2 separate regions of the Homo sapiens genome follow, and region 1 is linked to region 2. Evidence: promoter capture Hi-C in 16 types of primary human blood cells and fetal thymus (Javierre and others, 2016). All regions are on one chromosome and are shown on one strand. The core of a region is centred on a gene start or on the middle of the fragment in contact, and the rest is flanking DNA. Distances in the headings are between cores, read along the strand shown. Region 1 holds the start of PHACTR4 (phosphatase and actin regulator 4). Region 2 holds the start of ATP5IF1 (ATP synthase inhibitory factor subunit 1).

Evidence for each region. Contacts are between HindIII fragments. The CHiCAGO score rates a contact against its expected background, and 5 or more counts as called.
Region 1: the fragment with the promoter of PHACTR4 here is called in contact with the fragment with the promoter of ATP5IF1 in region 2 in 1 of 17 cell types (M1 macrophages); the score reaches 5.2 in M1 macrophages.

Annotation. Positions count from the first base shown.
Region 1 is chr1:28,368,417-28,371,846 of GRCh38, reverse strand. PHACTR4 (phosphatase and actin regulator 4) reads right to left here and starts at 2,107. Exons shown (of 14, transcript NM_001048183.3): 1 at 2,022-2,107. RefSeq lists a silencer at 1,734-1,953 and enhancers at 2,035-2,329, 1,980-2,935. The HindIII fragment of the contact is 7,867 bases long and covers 691-3,430 here.
Region 2 is chr1:28,234,420-28,237,695 of GRCh38, reverse strand. It overlaps ATP5IF1 (ATP synthase inhibitory factor subunit 1), which reads right to left and starts at 1,572. Exons shown (of 3, transcript NM_016311.5): 1 at 1,426-1,572; 2 at 1,244-1,335. The coding sequence starts at 1,512. RefSeq lists enhancers at 1,314-1,373, 2,167-2,673 and a silencer at 2,110-2,334. The HindIII fragment of the contact is 3,687 bases long and covers 1-3,083 here.

The DNA.
Region 1 (3,430 bases), core at 858-3,357, 130 kb before region 2:
AGGATCACTTGAGCCCAGGAGTCCAAGACCAGCCTGGGCAACAGAGTGGGACCCCAATCAATACAAAAATTTTTTTAAAAATTTTTTTAATTAGCTGCGCTGGTGGCCTGTGTCTGTTGTCCCAGCTACTCTGGAGGCAGAGGCTTGAGCCCAGGAGGAGGTCCAGGCTGCAGTGAGCAGTGCTCAACTCACTGCACTCCAGCCTGGGAAACCCAGCGAGACCCTATTTCAAAAAATAAATACATAAAAATTGGCCAGGCACGGTGGCTCACGCTTGTAATCCCAGCACTTTGGGAGACCGAGGCGGGTGGATCACCTGAGGTTAGGAGTTCAAGGCCAGCCTGGCTAACATGGTGAAACCTTGTTTCTACCAAAAATACAAAAACTAGCTGGGCATGGTGGCACACACCTGTAATCCCAGCTACTCAGGAGGCTGAGGCAGGAGAATCGCTTCAACCTGGGAAGTGGAGGTTGCAGTGAGCCAAGATCGTGCCATTGCATTCCAGCCTGGGTAACAAAGTGAGATTGTCTCAAAATAAATAAATAAATATAAATAAATTAAATTAAATAGTCGGGCACAGTGGCTCATGCCTCTAGTCCCAGGCATCTGGGAGCCTCTGGTGGAAGGATGGCTTAAGCCAAGAAGTTCGAGGCTACAGTGAACTAGGAGCTCTCCACTGTACTCAAGCTTCAGCAACCAAGCTAGACTCTTGTCTCTTAAATGAAACAAACAAACAAATTTTACCTTAAGCTGATTCTAGCAATGCAGTCTTCCAACAGGAGGACATACACAGTTACCATTATCTAGCCAAATTTGATCGAATCCACAATCCACGCAGTTCCGCGGTTTCCGGTAAGAATCTACCACACCTCATCCCCTAAACTGGCTTCATTTCTAAACGGGCTTCATTCCTTTTTTTTTTAAGATGGGGTCTTGCTGTGTTGCCCAGGCTGGTCGCGAACTTCTGGCCTCAAGCGATTCTCCTGCCTCAGCCTCCAGAATAGTTGGCATTACAGGCGCGCGCCACCACGCCCGAAATTCATTTCTTTAATTTGGCGAAAAAGTAAGTGACTTCTAGAAGCCACTGGGTTTCTGGTTCCTCTATAAAGCAAATTCTTCCACTGAAGGACTTTTTCCTTCCACTGTTTGTTTTAAAAAGAACAAGAAAAGGAAGAGGTTGGAAGGAGCGAGGAGCTGAGTGTCCGAATGAAGCACTGGAGGGTTTTTTTTTTTTGCAAGCAATCAGTGATGCCCTGTAAGTCACTCTCCTCCGAGATTTGGGAGGTGCGTGAACTGCCATTCTACCATTCACCACTGGTTCTTTGGTCCACCGATCACAGATGTGAGCTGCACAGACATCGCAGCAAATTCGATGCCTTCCCGGTTTCCCGGAGCCGGGGTGTAGAGGGTGGGAGAGAGGGGTCGCTTCTTTTCCTTAATCTCATCTCTCCACCAAGAAAAACGTCGGGAGTTTCGTGCCCTGAAGCCGCCCAGGCTGATGTTTGAAAGTTAAATAATAACCTCCAGGTTTTTACAGAAACTCCGCCTGGCTCCGAAGCCCCCGTTCTGCCCAGCAGGGGTGCAGAGGTCTGAGGCAGGACGGTTTTGAAAAATGTACTTTGACCCGATCCGGTTACTGTAACCGGATCCCCAGGGAGCAGTCCCTGTTGGGGACCGGGGGAACAGGCTCCCCCGTGGCGGAGACTCCATGCACGGACACAAAGGGGGAGCAACGCAGCCCAGACAAAAGGGCCCAGCCAAGTCTCGGGGGGCGGAGAGGGCGAGCCTGCGCGGGCCCTGCCTCAGGCGGAGAAGCCCGGGTTGGACCGTTGTGGGAGGGCCGAGGAGGGAGGCGGCGGCCCCGCCCCGCCCTGGCCCGAAGCGACGGCGACCCGGGCCGTTACCTTCTGCCCGGACCGGGACCCTCTCGCAGAGCCAAGAAAGGGGCCGCAGCCTGAGAGGAGGCCGCAGCCTGATACTGAGCGCGTCCTGCTCACTTTCCCTTGCTCGCTGAACTTACCCAGATCTCCGCCGCCGCCTCCTCAGCCTCCACAGCAGCCTCTCCCGGAAATCCTACCTGGCCCGTTGGCCGCCAGGCAGCAGCCGGAGCCCTTGGCCCCCGGGGAGGGGGAAAAAGGGAGCCGGCTGGACAGTGTAGGGTAGGACGTGCCGCCGCGGAGGCTTACGGGACTTGTAGTCCCCAGCAGGGGCCGGTTGCCCGGCAAGCTGAACAAAATGGCGGGAAGCGTGCGTCCTTTCTCTCCGGGCGGTCGTCCTCCTTACGACCTCTCTGGGCATGCGCTGGCCGCTCTGCGCACCTTGTGTGTAAAAGAACTTGGGCACCTTTCCTGGTACTATGGGAGGCAAAGGTCTTTGGGCTTGGGAGGACAGGGTTCAATACTGGGCTCCAGGCAGTACCCAAAAAGGGAACTGATACAAGAGTGTTGTTTGAGAAAACTGTATCCCTGACTGGCCAAATTTCAATCATAACCTCCCCAAAGGAAAAACTATTTATTGAGGACCAATTTGAAGTGCAAAAAACGTACAAGCAAGTTATCTACCCTCAGTGTTGTGCGTAAGAAACCCAGGAATCATTCTGGACACTTCCCTCAAGCCATTAAGTCCAGTCATTCTACATCCCCAGTATTTTAATTCATTTCGATATCCTTCACTACTATCACCTAGTGAAAGCCACCATCACTTCTCTCCAAGTCTCAGTAGTTTCAGGCCCTAGGCTATCACCCTCCGAAAACCTTCCTTGCTGCTGCCAGAGGACCCTTCTAAATGCAAACCCATTGTATCACACAACCTAAATTAGACCTACATGTAAAACTTGAAGCTACGGCACATCTAGAGGACATTCCAGGAGAAAAATCGATGTGACTTTTCAAATACACTATCCATAAAATTAAAAAAATTGGCCAGGCGCGGTGGCGCATGCCTGTAATCCCAGCTACTCAGGAGGCTGAGGCAGGAGAATCGCTTGAACCCAGGAGGCGGAGGTTGCAGTGAGCCGAGATCTTGCCATTGCAGTCCAGCCTGGGCGACAGAGCAAGACTCCGTCGCAAAACAAACAAACAAACAAACAAACAAATTATCCGGGGCCTAGTGCCAAGCTCCTGTAGTCCCAGCTACGTGGGAGGCTGAGGTGAGATGATCACTTGAGCCTGGGGGGTCGAGATCGCACCAGTGCACTCCAGCCTGGGCAGCAGAGCAAGACCCTGTCTCAATAGAAAAAGAAAAAAGAAGAAAAAAAAATTGGCCGGGTGCAGTGGCTCACACCTCTCATCCCAGCACTTTGGGAGGCTAAGGCGGGAGGATCCCTTGAGCCCTGGAGTTTGAGACCAGCCTGCCAGCCTGGGCAACAGAGTGAGGCCCCATCTCTACAAAAACAATTTTAAAAATTAGCTGGGCATGATGGAACGTGCC
Region 2 (3,276 bases), core at 323-2,822:
CTAGTGAAAGAATACCCCATCTTAAATTGAGGTGTAGCCATCTTAAGAAGACCAAAGAGCTTATTGCTTTCAGATTCCTCTTTAAAATAGAAAACTCCAGAGAGATGTGACACAAGTCCCTAATACCTTATGAGGGGAACAACCCAGGGAACTTGACTCCCCTTTAGGGAAAAAAAAAGGAACAAAATGAGGAAGACAGACAAAGGGGTGTAGCTAAAAGGCAAATATCCATTTCCTATTCCAATCTGTCTAGAGCTTTCTTTGCCTATAGAAATGAATGGCCCACTGTAAGGCCAATAAAGGGTCTCTTGCATGCGCAGTACTTGGCAGTTCAATTTAGGTTCCAAGAAGGGACTGGATTACAATGTTGGTTTGGTCACATTTAGGCCTCAGTTTTCCTTAACTACAAAATGTAGGGGCTCAATTAGATAGTCTCTAACGGCTGTACCTTGGCTCTCTATACGGTATGGCAGGTGTCATGGTGATAATTCTCAACAGAAGGCAGAAGTGAAAGGCCAAAGGACAAGCAAAAGCAAGATTAATTCCTCACTGCTCTCCAGAGTGGACAGAAGTCAGTTAAAGATAACTCAAGGCTGGCAAAGGGAGGCCCAGCCCACTCCATACTCCTAAGCAGGAGAGGGAAATCTACAGGTCTAGGTTGGGCTGAGTAGGGCAAAAGCCTTTAGAAGATGGTGTCCAACCATAAGTAGCTCCCATGACCAGCTCCCATCATCCTCACTCTTGCGGAGTCGGGGGTCTAGAAACACCTGAGAAGCCTGAATGCATGCAGGCTTGCAAAGCTAAGGCGTGCTGGCGAGGAAGGAGAGCGTAGAGGGGGTGACAGGTGGGTAAGGGCCGAGGGAGTCAGGCTGGGAGGCAAACGTTGGGCGGTCGGATCTAGACACTGTGCGAAGAATCTGGGGGTGTTTCGCACGACCTGAGGAGAACTCCACGCGGGAGATGGTAATGATAAAGGAGGAGTTGAGCCGTGGGTTGTTTTGGAGACCCGCCGGTGGAAACGGTTTGGGGGCCTGAAACTGTTGTGCAGGTAACTGGGAGTGCCCTATACGTGGCAACGGTCGGGACATCAAGGGTTAGGGTATACTGGATTGGGGCCCGGGAGTTCTGTTGGGGGATGGGGCGCCCAAGGCACCAGGTAGGAACGGGTGGGGCGATTGGCAGTTTAAGGATTGGAAGGCCATTGGGAGATCCAGGGCTGGACTTGGGACCCGGTGAGCCTCACCGGAAATATCGTTCCTCTTCAGCCTGCTCTCTCTTTCCGAAGGCCCCACCGGCTTCCCGGATGGAGCCCGCGCCCCGGTCGACATTCTCGGACTGCAGAGAGACAGGGACACTGGTAAAGGTACGGAAGCAAAGATGGGATCCGCCCGCGGGGCTGGAGCAGCGGACACTGCCGCAGCGTACCTGATCCGAGCCGAAGCCTCGGGCTTGCATGGTCCTCACGCCCCACACGCCAAGCCACGTCCGCGCCGCCAACGCCGTCACTGCCATTGCTGCTGGAGCTGCACCTCTGGCGTCTCTGCCGCAGCAAGCAGTCTCTCGTTACGCGCTAATGGCAGGGACGGCCAAGCACCCAATCTGGTCGACGGAGGGGCGGATGAACACAGGAGTAGCGAATCACGGGAGAGCGGAGGCGGGCTTCCCGGAGCTCACAGCGAATCCCGAGCAAGAGACGGGTTTCTTCTTAGCCAACCGCTAGCAAGGGCTTAGGGCCAAAGGACTGGAAAGAGGAATGATGGAGGAGTTTAGAGAGCTGAGTGAGGAGAGTGCCAGAAGCCGAAATTTCGGCTCTTGGACCCATCAGAATGAGGCGTGGCGTCCACCTCCAGCCCACGATTTCAATTCTAAAGTCGTTATTATTCAAAGCCCAAAGGAAGTTTTCCCTTCCCTGGCCTGCTAGCATCAATAAAATGGGGGAATTCGGGGTTTGGGAGCTGTGTCCAGGATGCTGATGTCCAGGATACCGACGTCCAATGTGCCCTGGCTTAGATATACATAAATCGCGTTCATTTGTTATGAGAAGTGTCAGTGTTCTGGCTGGGCGCGGTGGCTCACGCCTGTAATCCCAACACTTTGGGAGGCCGAAGTGGGTGGATCACCTGAGGTCCGGAGTTCGAGACCAGCCTGGCCAACATGGGGAAACCCCGTCTCTACTAAAAATACAAAAATCAGCCGGGTGCGGTGGCACGCGACTGTAATCGCAGCTACTCAGGAGGCTGAGACAGGAGAATTGGCTTGAACCCGGGAGGCGGAGGTTGCAGTGAGCCGAGATTGCGCAACTGCACTCCAGCCTGGTGACAAAGCGAGACTCCGTCTCAAAACAAAAAAAAAAAAAAGAAAACCCAAATTATAACTTGACCACCTCAGGCACAGTTTCCTAGGACCTCTTGAGGCTGTGTTTCCCCAAGCTATGGTCACTCATCTTGGCTCAGAATAAACCTTTTAAAAATATTTTAGTTTGTTTTTTTCGTTAGCAACATATTGTTGAATGGGCTTAATAACTGCACTTTTGGCAATGTGGTGCAATGCAGTAGAAAAGAGCAGGCCAGGCGCGGTGGCTCACACCTGTAATCCCAGCACTTTGGGAGGCCGAGGCGGGCAGATCACCTGAGGTTGGGAATTCGAGACCAGCTTGACCAACATGGAGAAACCCCATCTCTACTAAAAAAAAAATATGAAAAATTAGCTGGGCATGGTGGCGCATATCTGTAATCCCAGCTACTCGGGAGGCTGAGGCAGGAGAATCGCTTGAACCTGAGAGGCAGGGGGTGCAGTGAGCTGAGATCACGCCATTGCACTCCAGCCTGGTCAACAAGAGAGAAACTGTCTCAAAAATAAATAAATAAAAATAAAAAATAAATTAGCTAGGCGTGGTGGCACATGCCTGTAATCCCAGCTACTTGGGAGGCTGAGGCAGGAGAATGCTTGAACCCGGGAGGCTGAGGTTGCGGTGAGCTGAGATCACGCCATTGCACTGCGGCCTGGGTAACAAGAGCGAAACTCTGTCTCAAAAAAAAAAAAAAAAAAAAAAAAAAAGGATAAGTAGGAGTCTAGGGAAAGCTTGACCTTAACCTCCCTTCATCCATCTAATGAATGTGAACAAGACAACAGTAGTCTTTACTCTCATGAAGTTTATAGCTCTTCTCTAACTCATTTTCTCTTCTCTGTTTCTTCTTTTTTAGATGAGAGAATTGGGCCAGATTATCTACCTGATTGATGATTATAAAAATACCTTCTTTGGGGCTGGGCGTGGTG